Regions from separate parts of the Homo sapiens genome. Here regions 2 and 3 are each linked to region 1. The links are contacts of gene promoters, found by promoter capture Hi-C in blood cells and fetal thymus (Javierre and others, 2016). All regions are on one chromosome and are shown on one strand. Each heading gives the region's core, a stretch centred on a gene start or on the middle of the fragment in contact. The rest is flanking DNA. Distances are from core to core; before and after follow the strand shown. Region 1 holds the start of OGDH (oxoglutarate dehydrogenase). Region 2 has its middle 12 kb from the start of PPIA. Region 3 overlaps ZMIZ2 (zinc finger MIZ-type containing 2).

Evidence for each region. Contacts are between HindIII fragments. The CHiCAGO score rates a contact against its expected background, and 5 or more counts as called.
Region 2: a fragment that was not itself captured here is called in contact with the fragment with the promoter of OGDH in region 1 in 4 of 17 cell types (naive CD8 T cells, total B cells, activated CD4 T cells and 1 more); the score reaches 7.0 in naive CD8 T cells.
Region 3: a contact is called between a fragment that was not itself captured here and the fragment with the promoter of OGDH in region 1, in 8 of 17 cell types (total B cells, erythroblasts, endothelial precursors and 5 more). The highest score is 10.0, in total B cells.

The regions. Positions count from the first base shown.
Region 1 is chr7:44,603,797-44,608,761 of GRCh38, reverse strand. It overlaps OGDH (oxoglutarate dehydrogenase), which reads right to left and starts at 2,135. Exons shown (of 23, transcript NM_002541.4): 1 at 2,109-2,135. RefSeq lists enhancers at 1,146-1,485, 1,161-1,724, 1,976-2,575 and a silencer at 1,706-1,935. The HindIII fragment of the contact is 8,395 bases long and covers 1,489-4,965 here.
Region 2 is chr7:44,806,523-44,811,487 of GRCh38, reverse strand. No RefSeq gene overlaps it. Among named protein-coding and RNA genes, the nearest start is that of PPIA, 12 kb to the right of the region's middle. The HindIII fragment of the contact is 4,939 bases long and covers 345-4,965 here.
Region 3 is chr7:44,767,865-44,772,829 of GRCh38, reverse strand. ZMIZ2 (zinc finger MIZ-type containing 2) reads right to left here. Exons shown (of 19, transcript NM_031449.4): 19 at 2,949-4,965. Among named protein-coding and RNA genes, the nearest start is that of ZMIZ2, 22 kb to the right of the region's middle. RefSeq lists enhancers at 4,346-4,485, 4,320-4,846. The HindIII fragment of the contact is 2,420 bases long and covers 1,630-4,049 here.

The sequences.
Region 1 (4,965 bases), core at 886-3,385:
AAAGTAGATGATACTGTAGTTTTTTCTTTCCTTTTTTTTTTGAGATGGAGTCTTGCTCTGTCGCTCAGGCTGTAGTGCCGTGGCGCCATCTCGACTCGCTGCAACCTCTGCCTCCTGCGTTCAAGCGATTCTCCTGCCTCAGCCTCCTGCTGAGGCTGGAGGAGCTCAGCCTGTAGCTGAGACTACAGGCCCACGCCACCATGCCCTGCTAACTTTTGTATTTTTAGTAGAGACAGGGTTTCACCATGTTGGCCAGGCTGGTCTCAAACTCCCAACCTCAGGGGATCCACCCACCTCGGCCTCCCAAAGTGCTAGGATTACAGGCGTGAGCCACTGCGCCCGGCCTTTTTTTTTGAGACAGGATCTCACTGTGTCACCCAGGCTAGAGTGCAGTGGGGCAATAATGGCTCACTGCAGCTTGGACCTCCCTGGCTCATGCCATCCTCCCGCCTCAGCCTCCTGAGTAGTTGCGACTACAAGTATATGTGGTATATGCCACCATATCCGGATAATTTTATTTTTTGTAGACGCCGGGTATCACTTTGGTTGCTCAGGCTGGTCTCCTTGAACTGAGCTCAAGGGATCTTCCTTTCACACTCCCAAAGTGTGGGGATTACAAACGTGAGCCACCACGACTGGCCGAAATTGTGCACGTCAAATGGGTGAATCGTATGGTATGTGAATTTTATCTCAATAAAGATGTTATTTAAAGGGAAAAAGTAACTGAAATGTGAAAAGTGCGCTTAAAAAAAATAATGAGGGGCCGGGCGCAGTGGCTCACGCCTGTAATCCCAGCACTTTGGGGGCCGAGGCGGGCGGATCACCTGAGGTCAGGAGTTCGAGAATAGCCTGGCCAAGGTGGTGAAAACCCGTCTCTACTAAAAATACAAAAATTAGCCGGGCGTGATGGCGCGTGCCTGTAATATCAGCTACTTGGGAGGCTGAGGCAGGAGAATCACTTGAACCCAGGAAGGCAGAGGTTGCAGTGAGCCGAGATCGCGCCACAGCACTCCAGCCTGGGCGACAGAGACTCCATCTCAAACAAGACAACAACAACAAAAAATGAGCATACAGTGATCTTTATTCAACTTCCCAAGATCCAGTCCTCAGCTAATTTACAAAACTACAATAGTGTTACATACTCTCCTAGGTCTACACGGCAAAGTACAGTTTGACTGTTGCAACTAGTGCTGCCTTACAAAAAAAGGCTTTATCCCATGCCACCCATCCTAAACCCAGCTGTTCAGAGCAGTGTACCTGGAAATCAGCCTCAAAGTACGGACTGCAAGACAAGGCACAAGGAAACCCTAACACGAAGTCCTATGTTCTGGGCAAAGGGATGGGGATGGCAGGTGGGACGCACCCAGGTCAGGGCGAGGGCGCGGCAAGTTTTCTATTAAATCTCAGTAGATTACAACTCATATCCAATGTCTGATATATTTTCGAGGGAAAATGGTGCTTGAAAGATGTTTCTACGAGAAATAAGCTTCATCTCGGTCAATCTGTTCGACCCAACTTCTGGCAGCAGGTGTGGGGGCGGCGCCAAGGTCTGCGCGGTAATCCAAACAGGCAGTCCCACCCAGGGCCACCCCAAAGCCAGATGCTCCGACGCAACTCGAGCAGGCCACACTGTCTTTCGGACAAAGCGACGCGGTCCTCACAGGCGGGAAGGAGAGTGCGTCCCGGTCGGGAAGGACGCCGTCGGAGAGCGGCCTAACCACGTGACGCCCGCGGCGACCTTGGGGGTCACCCCTGCGGACGCACCGCCCTCTCCCTCACATCCGCCGCCGCGCCCGCCCCCCGCTCGCCCACCGCCAATGGCGCGTCGCTCCGCGCCCCGCGCGACCTCGGAGCCCGCCCGTACCCGCCAATCTCCGCCCGCCGGGCAGGCCCCGCGGCTCCATTGGCTGCCACGGCCATCCATCAGGTCCCGTCCCTCCTACCACCCTCCGTGAGCCCCACTCCATCCAGCTCCACTCCCCTGTCACCGCGGCGCCCGCAGCACCAAGGGCGCGGCGGCCTCCCCCTTTACCGCGATCTCCAACCCCGGGCCGCCAAGCGCCGCGACACCCGGCACTGGGACGGGCGCGGCGACAGCGCACGGTTACCTGTCTCCGGCTCAGCTCCACCCGAATGAGGCGCCGACACCCCACTCCGGGGCTCCAAACTCTCGGCCCCGCCCCGGCGTATGGCGTCAACACGTAGCCCTCCCCTGGAGAAGAATGCCCTCCCCTCTTACAGAGGACCGATTCGTGACGTCACAGAGCCGCGCCGGGCGTCACAGCGCCGACTGCGCAGTTGCAGAAGCCAGGGCCAGCTGGAGCCCAGCTGTTTGCTCCGCTAGAGAGATGAGGTTGTCTATGGACTTCCAGCGGCTTCTGCTATCATAAATAATTTCTGAAAGTAAGATATCTCTAGCGCCTGGTAGGAACCTATCAAGAGATAGTTGGGTTGATGTGAAACTTAGCGCACAAAAATAAACAATTTGAATAACAGAATCTCCGTTTTTGAGATTGTCCTGGGTCAGGCTTTGTGACAAGCGCTTCACCGGCGCTATTGTGTAACAATCTGTGAGACAGGTGTTCCTATCCCCGGTCTACAAATGACAGTTGGCAGTGCTGGGATCTTGCCCGGGATCTTGCCTGGGTTTTCTTGACTTTAGAGCTACCTATCAAAGATAAAACGTGGCTAATTAACCTGTCACAACCTGTTGATTGTAAGATGTTCCCTATTTTAAAGTATTAAAATTTGGGGAAAGGCCGGGCGCGGTGGCTCACGCCTGTAATCCCAGTACTTTGGGAGGCCGAAGCGGGCGGATCACTTGAGGTCAGGAGTTCGAGACCAGCTTGACCAACATGGGGAAACCCCGTCTCTACTAAAAATACAAAAATTAGCTGGGCGTGGTGGCGATCCCAGCTACTCGGGAGGCTGAGGCAGGAGAGTCGCTAGAACCCGGGAGACGGAGGTTGCGGTGTGCCGAGATCGTGCCATTGCACTCCAGCCTGGGCAACAAGAGCGAAAATCCGTCTCAAAAAACAAACAAAAAAAGGGGGCGTATAAGTGCTTATTATAGAACAAAGTTAGGGTAATGTATGTGACAAGGATCTAGAGACTGGAAGAGGTGAAGAGACCAAGGAACAAACTTCTGTATTCTTTTTTCCTTTTTTTTTTTTAAATAAATTACGGTAAAAATGTATGTACTAAACATTTGCAGCTGGGTGCAGTGGCTCACGCTTGTAATCCCAGCACTTCGGGAGGTGGAGGCGGGAGGATCGCTTGAGCTCAGGAGTTCCAGATCAGCCTGGGGAACAGAGCAAGATCTCATTTCTACTAAAAAATCAAGAAAATTAGCCAGGTGTAGTGGCACTCACCTGTAGTCTCAGCTAATTGGGAGGCTGAGGCAGGAGGATCTCTTGAGCCTGAGAGATTGAGGCTGCAGTGAGCTATGATTGTACCACTGCACTCCAGCCTGGGCCAGAGAGCAAGATACTGTCTTTTTTTTTTTAATGCCATTTTAACCATTTTTAGGTGTATAACTCAGTGGCATTAATTACATTCACAATATTATGCAACCGTCACCACTCAATTTCCAAAACTTTTTCATCACCTGAAACAGCAACTCTGTAACCATTAAGCAATAACTTCCTATTTCCCCTTCTCCTCCTGTCCTTCTCTCCTTTGGTAACCTCTATTATACGGTCTCTATACATTTGATTACTCAATTACTTTATGTGGGTGAAATCATAATGTATATGTCCTTTTGTGTCCACCTTATTTCATTGAGCATGAGGTTGTCAAGGTTTATCTGTGTTGTAGCATGGGTCAGAACTTCATTTCTTTTTTTTTTTTTTGAGACAGGATCTCCCTCGGTTTCAGGCTGGAGGGCAGTGGTGCCATCTCAGCTCACTGCAATCTCTGCCACCCAGGTTCAAGTGATTCTGATGCCTCAGCCTCCCAAGTAGCTGGGACTACTGGCACGCTCCACCATGCCTGGCTAATATTTTTTTCTTTTTCTTTCTTTCTTTTTTTATTTTTGAGATGGTGTTTCGTTCTTGTTGCCCAGGCTGGAGTGCAGTGGTGTCATCTCGGCTCACTGCAACCTCTGCCTTGTAGATTCAAGCAATTCTCCTGCCTCAGCCTCTCAAGTAGCTGGGATTATAAGCGCCCGCCACTACGCCCAGCTTATTTTGTATTTTTAGTAGCGATGGGGTTTCACCATGTTGGCCAGGCTGGTCTTGAACTCTTGACCTCAAGTGATCCACCCACCTCGACCTCCCAAAGTGCTGGGATTACAGGCATGAGCCCCCATGCCTGGCCAGAACTTCATTTCTTTTTATGGCTGAATAATATTCCATTGTATGTATATACCACATTTTGTTTATTTATTCATCTATTGATGGACACTTGGTTATTTCTGCTTTTTTGCTGTTTTGAATAATGTTGCAATGAACATTGGCTTATAAATGTTTGAGCCCATTGTGGTACCAAGCAGTGGGCTCACTGCTAGATGCACATAGAAGCCAATACTATGTCATCACCTTTTGAGAAAAGGCTTTATCGTAAGGTCGACCAGCAGGGAAACCAGAGGCAATACTCAAATTTGTCTCCCCAAGATGGAATCTGGGGGCAGGTTTTATAGGCAGAAGGCAACTATGAGGGAGATGGGAAAATACAACAAGGTGTGATCTGTTTGGGTCATGCAAAGGGGCAATGCTGGATCTTTGGCTTTTAAGTTCATATTGCAGCAAAACAAGGCGCCCCATGCTTCCTAATTTGGTGTCCATTCCTCCATTTGAGTGGTTAAGTCCTGCCTGTGGTTGACTTTTGTGTTCCCACCGACACCAGGGTCAGCTATCAGGCACACTTTGTTCATCTGGGCATACTTAGGTTACGTGACTTGCAGCCTGGGGATCTATTGTAACTGAAAAACAACTCATCATTTTGTTACTGATAAAAGTTGAACCA
Region 2 (4,965 bases), core at 1,565-4,064, 200 kb before region 1:
CAGAAGGGTACTTTACAACTGCAAAAGGGAATAATTGATTCAGACAAATATAATTAATGCCAAAACACAACAATCAGGTGAAAAGGCTCTCTTCTTGGAAAGAGGGTCTTTATGCAGAGGCAAAATATCACCCCTCAAGATTACCTAATTTTCAGAAAAGGGAAAAGATACCTTTCCAGTGGAGCAGTCTGGCAGGCATTACCTTAACTGCAAGTTCAAATTTAGCCTCACTGATGAGTCAGCCTGAGACTTTGTGCCTCCTGATGTGAGGCAAGATTAAGTACACAAAGTATCACCTATGAAATCTTCCTGCTAAATATGATGAATTTGAATCCAATTAAGCTTCTAGGCCTAGTGTAATTTCCAATTTACAGAAAATACAGGAGCTAAAAGAGAAAAACAGGAAACAATTAGCTCCAGAATAATGGACATTCCACAAAGTCAATGTCCTGAACTCTTTGTTTTATTTGTTTCTTTATTTTATTTATTTATTTATTTTTGAGATGGAGTTTTACTCTTGTCGCCCAGCCTAAAGTGCAATGGCACGATCTCAGCTCACTGCAACCTCCACCTCCCAGGTTCAAGCAATTCTCCTGTCTCAGCCTCCTGAGTAGCTGGGATTACAGGCATGTGCCACCACGCCCGGCTAATTTTTTATTTTTTAGTAGAGATGGGGTTTCACCATGTTGGCCAGGCTGGTCCTGAACTCCTGACCTCAGATAATTCACCTGCCTCGGCCTGGAATTGCAGGCGTGAGCCACCGCACCCAGCTGTTTTATTTCTTTTGGAGACAAGGTCTGGCTCTATCACCCAGGCTGGAGTGCAGTGGCACAATCACGTCTCACTGCAAACTCCACGTCTCACTGCAAACTCCACCTCTCAGGCTCAAGGGATTCTCCCACCTCAGCCACCTGAGTAGCTGGGACCACAGGCTCGCATCCAGTGTGACCACAGGCTCACACCTGGCTAATTTTTGTATTTTTTGTAAAGATGGGGTTTCACTATGTTGCCCAGGCTGGTCTCCAACTCATGAGCTCAAGCAATCTACCTGCCTTGGCCTCCCAAAGTGCTGGGATTACAGGAGTGAGCCACCGTGCCCAGCTGTCCTGAACTTTTTTTTTTTCTTTGATACACAGTCTCGCTCTGTCTCCAGGCTGGAGTGCAGTGGCATCTGCCTCCCAGGTTCAAGTGATTCCCCTGCCTCAGCCTCTTGAGTAGCTGGGACTACAGGTGCGTGCCACCACCCCCGGCTAATTTTTTGTATTTTAGTAGAGACAGTGTTTCACCATGTTGGCCAGGTTGGTCTCGATCTCCTGACCTTGTGATCCACCTGCCTCAGCCTCCCAAAGTGCTGGGATTACAGGCGTGAGCCACTGCGCCCAGCCTGTCCTGAACTTTTAAAAGAGTCAACATCGGCTGGGCGCAGTGGCTCACGCCTGTAATCCCAGCACTTTGGGAGGCCGAGTTTGGAGGATCACTTGAACTCAAGAGTTCGAGACCGACCTGGACAACATCGTGAAACCCCCTCTCTACTAAAAATACAAAAATTAGCTGGGCGTGGTGGCATCAGCCTCTAATCCCAGCTACTTGGGAGGCTGCGGAAGGAGAATTACTTGAACCTGGGAGGCGGAGGTTGCAGTGAGTGAAGATCGCCCATTGCACTCCAGCCTGGGTGACAGAGTGAGACTCTGTCTTAAAAAAAAAAAAAAAAAAAGAGGCCGGGCGCGGTGGCTCACGCCTGTAATCTCAGCACTTTGGGAGGCCGAGGCGGGCGGATCACGAGGTCAGGAGATCGAGACCATCCTGGCTAACAAGGTGAAACCCCGTCTCTACTGAAAATACAGAAAATTAGCCGGGCTTGGTAGCGGGCGCCTGTAGTCCCAGCTACTCGGGAGGCTGAGGCAGGAGAATGGCGTGAACCTGGGAGGCGGAGCTTGCAGTGAGCCGAGATCGCGCCACCGCACTCCAGCCTGGGTGACAGAGCAAGACTCCGTCTCAAAAAAAAAAAAAAAATCATTTTCACTTAAGGGAAACAATGTCGCCATGCACCTGTAATCCCAGCTACTCAAGAGACTGAGATTTAGCCAGTCCCCTAAGATGAATATTTATATTTCCTAAAATTGCATTCATACAGAACCATTGATTCAAATAAACAAGAAAAACATGGAGTAAAAAAAAATAAAGTCCAGGAGTCCAGTCCTGCACTGAGTTCAGGAGTTTGAGGCTTCAGTGAGTTATATTGCACCACTGCACTCCAGGTTGAGTGACAGAGCAAGACTCCATCTCTAAACAAACAAACAAACAAAGTGGGAAGGAGCAAAGACCACACAGTGTATGATTCACTGTAAAAGTCCAGCCAGGCCCAGTGGCTCACACCTGTAATCCCAGCACTTTGAGAGACAGACGTGGGAGGACTGCTTGAGCCCAGAGATCGAGACCAGCCTGGGCAACGTGATGAGACCTCTTCTCTACAAAAAACTTAAAAATTACCCAGACGTGGTGGTACATAGCTGTGGTCCCAGCTACTTGGGAGGCTGAGGCAGGAGGATCACTTGAGCCCAGGAGGTCAAGGTGTTAGTGAATGATGTTCGTGCCATTGCACTTTAGCCTGGGTAACAGAGCAAGACCCTGTCTTAAAAAAAAAAAAAAAAAAAAGTCCAGAAACAACAAATCTATAGAGACAGAAGGCATGTTTGCAGTTGCCAGGTGGTGAGGGGACTGCAGTTGAAGCAAGATTGACCACATATGGAAACAAGGCCTTGTACTGGGGTGATGGAATGCTCTAAAACTAACTGAAAATTATTGAACTGTGCTCTTAAAAAGGGTAATTTTGGCCAGGTGCAGTGGCTCACTCCTGTAATCCCAGCACTTTGGGAGGCCAAGATGGGTGGATCACCTGATGTCATGAGTTTGAGGCCAGCTTGGCCAACATAGTGAAACCCCGTCTCTACTAAAAATGCAAAAATTAGGTGGGCGTCTGTAATCCCAGCTACTTGGGAGGCTGAGGTGGGAGAATCACTTGAATCCAGGAGGGGGTGGTTGCAGTGAGCCAAGATCAAGGCCACTGCACTCCAGCCTGAGTGACAAAGACAGACTCCATCTCACACACACACAAAAAAGGTAATTTCATGGTATGTAAATTATAATCTCAATAAATTTTTAAAAGCTAGTAAGCAGAAATTACAGGTTTTGGTTTTGTTTTGTTTTTTAAGGTGGAAAGACTGCTCTGGAGTAAAAGAAACCAAAGACACCTAACAGTCAAATGTAATGTGTAAAACTAAATTAGATCCTGGGAATGGTGGAGAGAGGAGGAACAGTTATAAAAGACATTCTAATTGTATGTAAATTATACCTTAATAAGAATGATTTTAAAAATACATCCTCATAGAAAGAGCAGGATTGAAATAGAATTTTTTTTTATTTCTTCAAAAAAAAAAAAAAAAAAAAAAAAAACAGGCCAGGCATGGTGGCTCACACCTGTAATCCCAGCACTTTGGGAGGCCGAGGTGGGCAGATCACCTGAGGTCAGGAGTTCGAGGTCAGCCTGATCAACATAGTGAAACCCCATCTCTACTAAAAATACAAAAATTAGCTGGGCATGGTGGTGCCTCCCAGCTACTTGGCAGGCTGTGGCAGGAGAATCACTTGAACCTAGGAGGTGGAGGTTGCAATGAGCTGAGATTGTGCCATTGCACTCCAGCCTGGGTAACAAGAGCGAAACTCTATCTCAAAAAAAAAATAATAAAAATATGGAATACATGTGTAGAACATGCGGGTTTGTTACATAGGTATATGTGTGCCATGGTGGTTTGCTGCACCTATTAACCCTGAAATAGAATTTTATTTATTTATTTATTTTGAGACAGAGTCTCGCTCTGTTGCCCAGGCTGGGGTGCAATGGTACGATCTTGGCTCACTGCAGCCTTCATCTCCCAGGTTCAAGCGATTTTCCTGCCTCGGCCTCCTGAGTAGCTGGGATTACAGACATGCACCACCATGCCTGGCTAATTTTGTATTTTGAGTAGAGATGGAATTTCACCATGTTGGCCAGGTTGGTCTCGAACTCCTGACCTCAAGTGATCTGCCCACCTCGGCCTCCCAAAGTGCTGAGATTACAGGCATGAGCCACCGTACCTGGACTGAAAAAGAATTTTAAAAAGCAATAAACATAAAAACACATTATAAGAACAAGGGGGAACATCTGACTGTGAACCAGATATTATAGATTTTACAGATTTTCTGAGGTGGAGAAAGGCATTGGCTGACTTTCCCAGAAATAGTTCTTGTGTTCTCAAAGACCCTGAGGCCACACTCTAACCCAGCCTGCTCAACTTGCCTTCTCCTGGGAGCCTGCCTCATAATAGTGGCAATTTCGACCTTTCTTTGCACAATTAGGTTTGTGCTTGCTTCTCACTTTTTCTCAATATGTTTTTAGGGACACAGGTGCTAGAGATTGATGAACACAAAAATTGGAATCATGGGCTGAGCACGCCTGTAATCCCAGCACTTTTGGAGGCCGAGGCAGGAGGATCACCTGAGGTAGGGAGTTCGAGACCAGCCTGACCAACATGGAGAAACCCAGTCTCTACTAAAAATACAAAATTAGCCGGGCATGGTGGCACATGCCTGTAATCCCAACTACTCGGGAGGCTGAGGCAGGAGAATCGCTTGAACCTGGGAGGCGGAGGGTTGCGGTGAGCCGAGATTGCATCATTGCACTCCAGCCTGGGCAACAAGAGCAAAACTTCATCTCAAAAAAAAAAAAAAAAATTGGAATCATGGTTCCCTCTGAAGAGGAAAGAGCGTGCAACTGAAGAGGGCTTGCAAAGGGCATTTCTGGGATACTAGTAGATATGCTGGGGTTCTTTTTATTTCTGGTCTTTAAACTGTATTTTATAGACTTGTGGTAGGCAACTCTTAAAGATGGTCCCTTATCCCCACCTCTATAAATTGGGTTTCATCATG
Region 3 (4,965 bases), core at 1,590-4,089, 160 kb before region 1:
CGGTTTAACTGATCAGCTACGATGGGAACTGTGAAAGGCATTCCACAGAGTGAATCAAGGCTTCAGGAGGAGGCCCTGACTTATCCTGGAGGCAGAGGGTTCTCCCAGGAATGGCGTCTTAGCTGAAGCCTGACCCAGAAGGTAGACGGGCAGGAACGAGGTAATGTGGAGACTGTTGGGAGCAGGCAAGGACTTCATCCCAAGGCAATGGGAGGCCCTCTGTACTCCCTCTTGTGATAACTGCTTCCCTTCTTTCGGGCAGTGCTCCTGACCCCACTCTAGCTGTGTGGGTGGGTCCCTACCTGGTTGAGTCAACCAGATCCCATCCCTGGGATTTTAAACTTGGAACCAGAAGGAGAGTGATCATCACCTCTTTTCTAGGGTGAATCAATGAGAAGTGAGGCTCCGAAGCTTGGATCTCAAGTTCACAGAAGCAGCTGGTTGAGGGTGAAGCTTGCACACAGAGGCCAAGGAAGGATGCCTACCCATGTCCAGCTGCCCCAGGGCCCTTTCAGGACTGCTATTTTGAGCCCCTTCCTTCCTTAACTGGTTTGAATTGGTCACCGTCACTTGCAACCTATTGAGTCCTAGCTAATGTACCATGACAGGGTTCAAGACTTGGTCAGAGAAGAGCTGGGGTATAGGATGCTGGGGAAGGGTACCCATTAATCCTCCCTTCTAAGTGGTAACTGAGAGAATGAACAAGAACAATATACAGTTAAATGAAAATAAAAAGGCACAGTGGCTCAAGCCTATAATCCCAGCACTTTGGGAGGCCGAGGCAGGCAGATCACAAGGTCAGGAGTTCGAGACCAGCCTAACCAACATGGTGAAACCCCATCTCTACTAAAATTACAAGAATTAGCCAGGCGTGATGGCGCGCCACCTGTAATCCCAGCTGCTCAGGAGGCTGAGCAGGAGAATCACTTGAACCCGGGAGGCGGAAGTTGCAGTGAGCTGAGATCATGCCACTGCACTCCAGCCTGGGCGACAGAGCAAGACTCCGTCTTAAAAAAAAAAAAAAAGAAAATAAACACAGACGCTTTAAGGATCAGTTAACAACAAGACACAGACTCTAATATTCACTGACATAAAGTTTCAGAAAGGGCAAAATTAATCTCTGGTGACAGGGGCCAGAACAGTGATGACCTGGGGTGGGGTGTGGGTTGGTCTCTCCTGTGAGGTTTGGAAGGGCAGGTACACACGCGTGTGCACTTACCAAAACCTACTGCACTGTGCATCCGACTGCACTGATGTCCCTGGCTTCTTTGAGGCAACTTGGGTGACAGGCCATCCTGAGCCAGTCATGTCTTGCCCTCCCACTCAGGGCAGGCAGGATGGGCTGTCTCAATGGCCCCCAAAGCCTGGAAGGCTGGAAGGGTGGCAAGGAGGAAACCCACAGTGGGTAGAGTTACAGGGGTCAGAAGTGGGGGCCACTGCCTGCTGGGGAAGGCCACTGGAGGAAGCTGGGGCAGAATGGGAGGGAAGCTGGCCCCTCACATGAATACGGGGAATTAGGAAGTGTTTTCTCCTCCACAATGTTTGGGAGAATTTGGGGATTTATGTCCATTCTTTAGCATTTGGTAGAATTCACCATCTGGTCCTGGGCTTTTCTTTTGTTGGGAAGCTTTTGATGACTGGTTCTACCTATGTGTTTTAGGTTGGTTCAGATTTTTTCCTTTTTCTTCTTTTTTTGAGGTCAGGTCTCTGTCTCTGCCTCATTCCTGGCTGGAGTGCAGTGGTGCTGTCATAGGTCGTTGCAGCTTTGAACTCCTGGGCTCTAGCTATCCTCCTGCTTCAGCCTCCCAAGTAGCTGGGGCTACAGGCACGTGCCATGACACCTGGTTGATTTCTAAAGATTTTGTCGAGGCAGGGTCTCTGTTGCCCAGGCTGGTCTCGAACTCCTGGCCTCAGGCCATCCTCCTAACTAGTTCTCCCCAAGTGCTGGGATCACAGGTGTGAGCCACTGCACCTGGCCCTGTTCAGATTTTCTATTTTTCCTGGGACAATTTTGGTCATTTGTATCTTTCTAGGAATTTTTTTGTTGTTGTTTTGAGACAGAGTCTCACTCTGTCACCCAAGCTGGAGTGCAATGGCATGATCTCAGCTCACTGCAACCTCTGCCTCCTGGGTTCAAGTGATTTTCCTGCCTCAGCCTCGTGAATAGCTGGGATTACAGGTGTGAGCCACCACGCCTGGCTAATTTTTGTGTTTTTAGTAGAGACAGGGTTTCACCACTTTGGCCAGGTTGGTCTCGAACTTCTGACCTCAGGTGATCTGCCTGCCTCGGCCTCCCAAAGTGCCGCGATTACAGGCGTGAGCCACCACACCCAGCCAAGATGTCGCATCTTTTTAAATGTTGGCATTTGCAGCTATAAATTTCCCTCAGAGCAGTTTTTGCCGCATTCCTTAAGTTCTGGTATGTTGTTTTCATCCATCTCTATTTCCTAATTTTTCTCGTGATTTCTCCTTTGACCCTTTGGCTGTTAAAAAGTGTGTTCAATTTCTATGTATGTGTGAATTTTCATTTTCCTTCTGGTATGGATTTCTGGTTTTATTCCATTGTGATTGGAGAAGGTGGTTTGCAGGATTCCGATCTCTAATTTACTGAGACTTGCTTTGTGCACTAACGTGTGGTCTGTCCTGGAGAACGTTCCCTGTGCACTTAGAAACGTGTGTTCTGCTGCTATTGGGTGGAGCACTGTTAAGTCTGGTCAGCCTTTTGGTTTTTATGTAATACTTGGCACATTCACAAGAAAATGTGTGAAACAGAAAGTACGACAAAGTGAAACCCACGAAGCCACCACTGACCCTGAGGTTCAAAACCTCCAGCATCTCTGCTCTTCCCTAAGCACAGCTCCGTCCCCTCCCCACGGGTGAGCACTGTGTTGTACTGACTCCCTGCCCTCCCTGATGACTTTAGCACCTGGGTATGAATTCCACACATATTTGGTTTTGAGCTTTATAAAAATGGCATCATACTGTATGAACTGTCTTGCTTTTTCATCCCACGTTGTTTCTGAGAGGTGTTTGTGATGGAGCACAGGGCCACGGTGCCCATGCATTCCTCAATCATTTCTCCAGTCTTCTGAGGATGGGCTTCTGGGTTGTTTGCAGCCTTTTGCTTGTCCCAGTCTCCTAGTTTCTCCACTCCATCCGGGAGCATCACGTTTGCAACAGGCAGGGCAGGTGGTGCATCAGATGTCCAGGACACAGTCATTTGACACCCAAGAAAGGAGGGCCTGGGGCCTGCATCAGGCCATGGCTGAGTGGGACTTTGCCAGGCTGTCTCCGCACCCAGCGACAGGACTGTGCGTGCTGCTGCTTCTTTTGTTTCCTCCACTTCTGTTCCCTCATCCAGAGAGGGCGGAAGAGCTGGAAACAGAGGCTTTGTCAGGGAATAAGGAAGCCCACCTGTGTGGTCCCAAATGTCGCAGGGGCAACGCTCACACCAGATACCTCCCTCCTCCTCCTCCCTGCAGCCTCTGGGCTCCCACAGACAGATGCCCTCCTCTAGTGCCTCCAGGGGCAGGCCTTGGCCGCCAGCCTGAGGATGCCCAGCGCTCCCCTCCTCCCCTAGGTTCCTGTGTTCCCCCAGTTCTTGCCTCTCCTGCTGGCTGGCTGGGAAGGCCCTCAAGGATGGGGCCCAGGACTGGAGGAAATGGTGACCCGGACCCCCACCAAGCTGGACAGGCAGATGGTAGGCAGGACACACCTCTGCAATCTCTGGGAAGTGACAAGCAGAGGCCTCCCAGGGACAAGAGCTGAGAAGGATGAGCCCCTGGCTGGGCTGGGGCTGCCAAACAACTGTCTCAGTGCCCCAGGGCAAGCCCAGATAAGGTGACATAGTGGCAAATGTCTCTCCTGGGCAAGCCTGGGATGCTTCACAAAACAGCTCTTCAGCTGAAGCCAACTTGGAAAATTCCAGGGAAAAGGAAATTTACTATGGGGCGGGAATAGCCGAGCCTTGGCTTGAAACATCCAGAGCTCAACCTGGGGCCCCAAAAGCCACTTGAAGGTCGACCTGGCCCCCAGGTCCTGCACAAGCTTTGCAGGCACAGCCCAAGCTTTAGGCAGGTCGCTGGCTTACGAGGAGAAAATAGTCCCTGGGAGCACAAAGGAGGGACTCGGCCAGGCCCACCAAGAGGGAGTCCTTTAATAGAGATCGGCACAGACAGGAGACACAACAGCCCAGGCGCCCTGCTCGCACAGGCTGGGGCCCTGAGCCAACAGATGCAGTGGCTTCCTCCTCCCCCACCTGGGTGTGGGCCCATGGGGTGGAGACAGAGAGGTGGCTTTAAAAAACACAGCTGTACTAATTCTTCACTTTCACAGAGAAGGGGAACTTGGGAGCGCAGCCCGCTAGAGAATCTTTACACAGAGCTGAATCTGAGAGCCCACCCACCCACCTCGGCCAGGCCGAAGCTCACTGTCCCCCACCCATTGGAGGTTCCTCCCTGATCTGTCTGCACATGGGAAGGAGCAGAGCGCGCAGGGAGACCGGGCTGTACAACAGGAACATGCTGGCTGGACAGCTGGCTCCCCTCTCCCAGCTGTTAGTGTTTCTACACTATGTACATTGTTGTGCTTTGTAGCTCCCCCACCCCGAGGCCTCTGCTTGAAGCTGGGGTGGGGAGAGGAACCTGACACCACACACGGCTGGGCTGCCAGAGCTCCAGGCCCCCAAGAGGCTGCCATTCAGCGAGGTTCCAAGAGCTGGACTGCTGGGCACAGGGGCCACTGGAGCCAAAGGCCCAGGGGACAGAGCCAGCCCTGCCAGATGCCCAGCTCTGCCCAGTGGAGGAGTTGTTGAAACAGAAGGATCAATGCTGGACAAGAAGCAGGCTGGGTGGGGGCAGGCAGGGGTGGAAGGACAAGGTGTGAGGCTGTGAGACCAGGGGCGTGAGATGTGTGTGTGGACAAGGCTGGACAGGGCTGGGCAGGGGCACCTCAGCAAAAACCGTT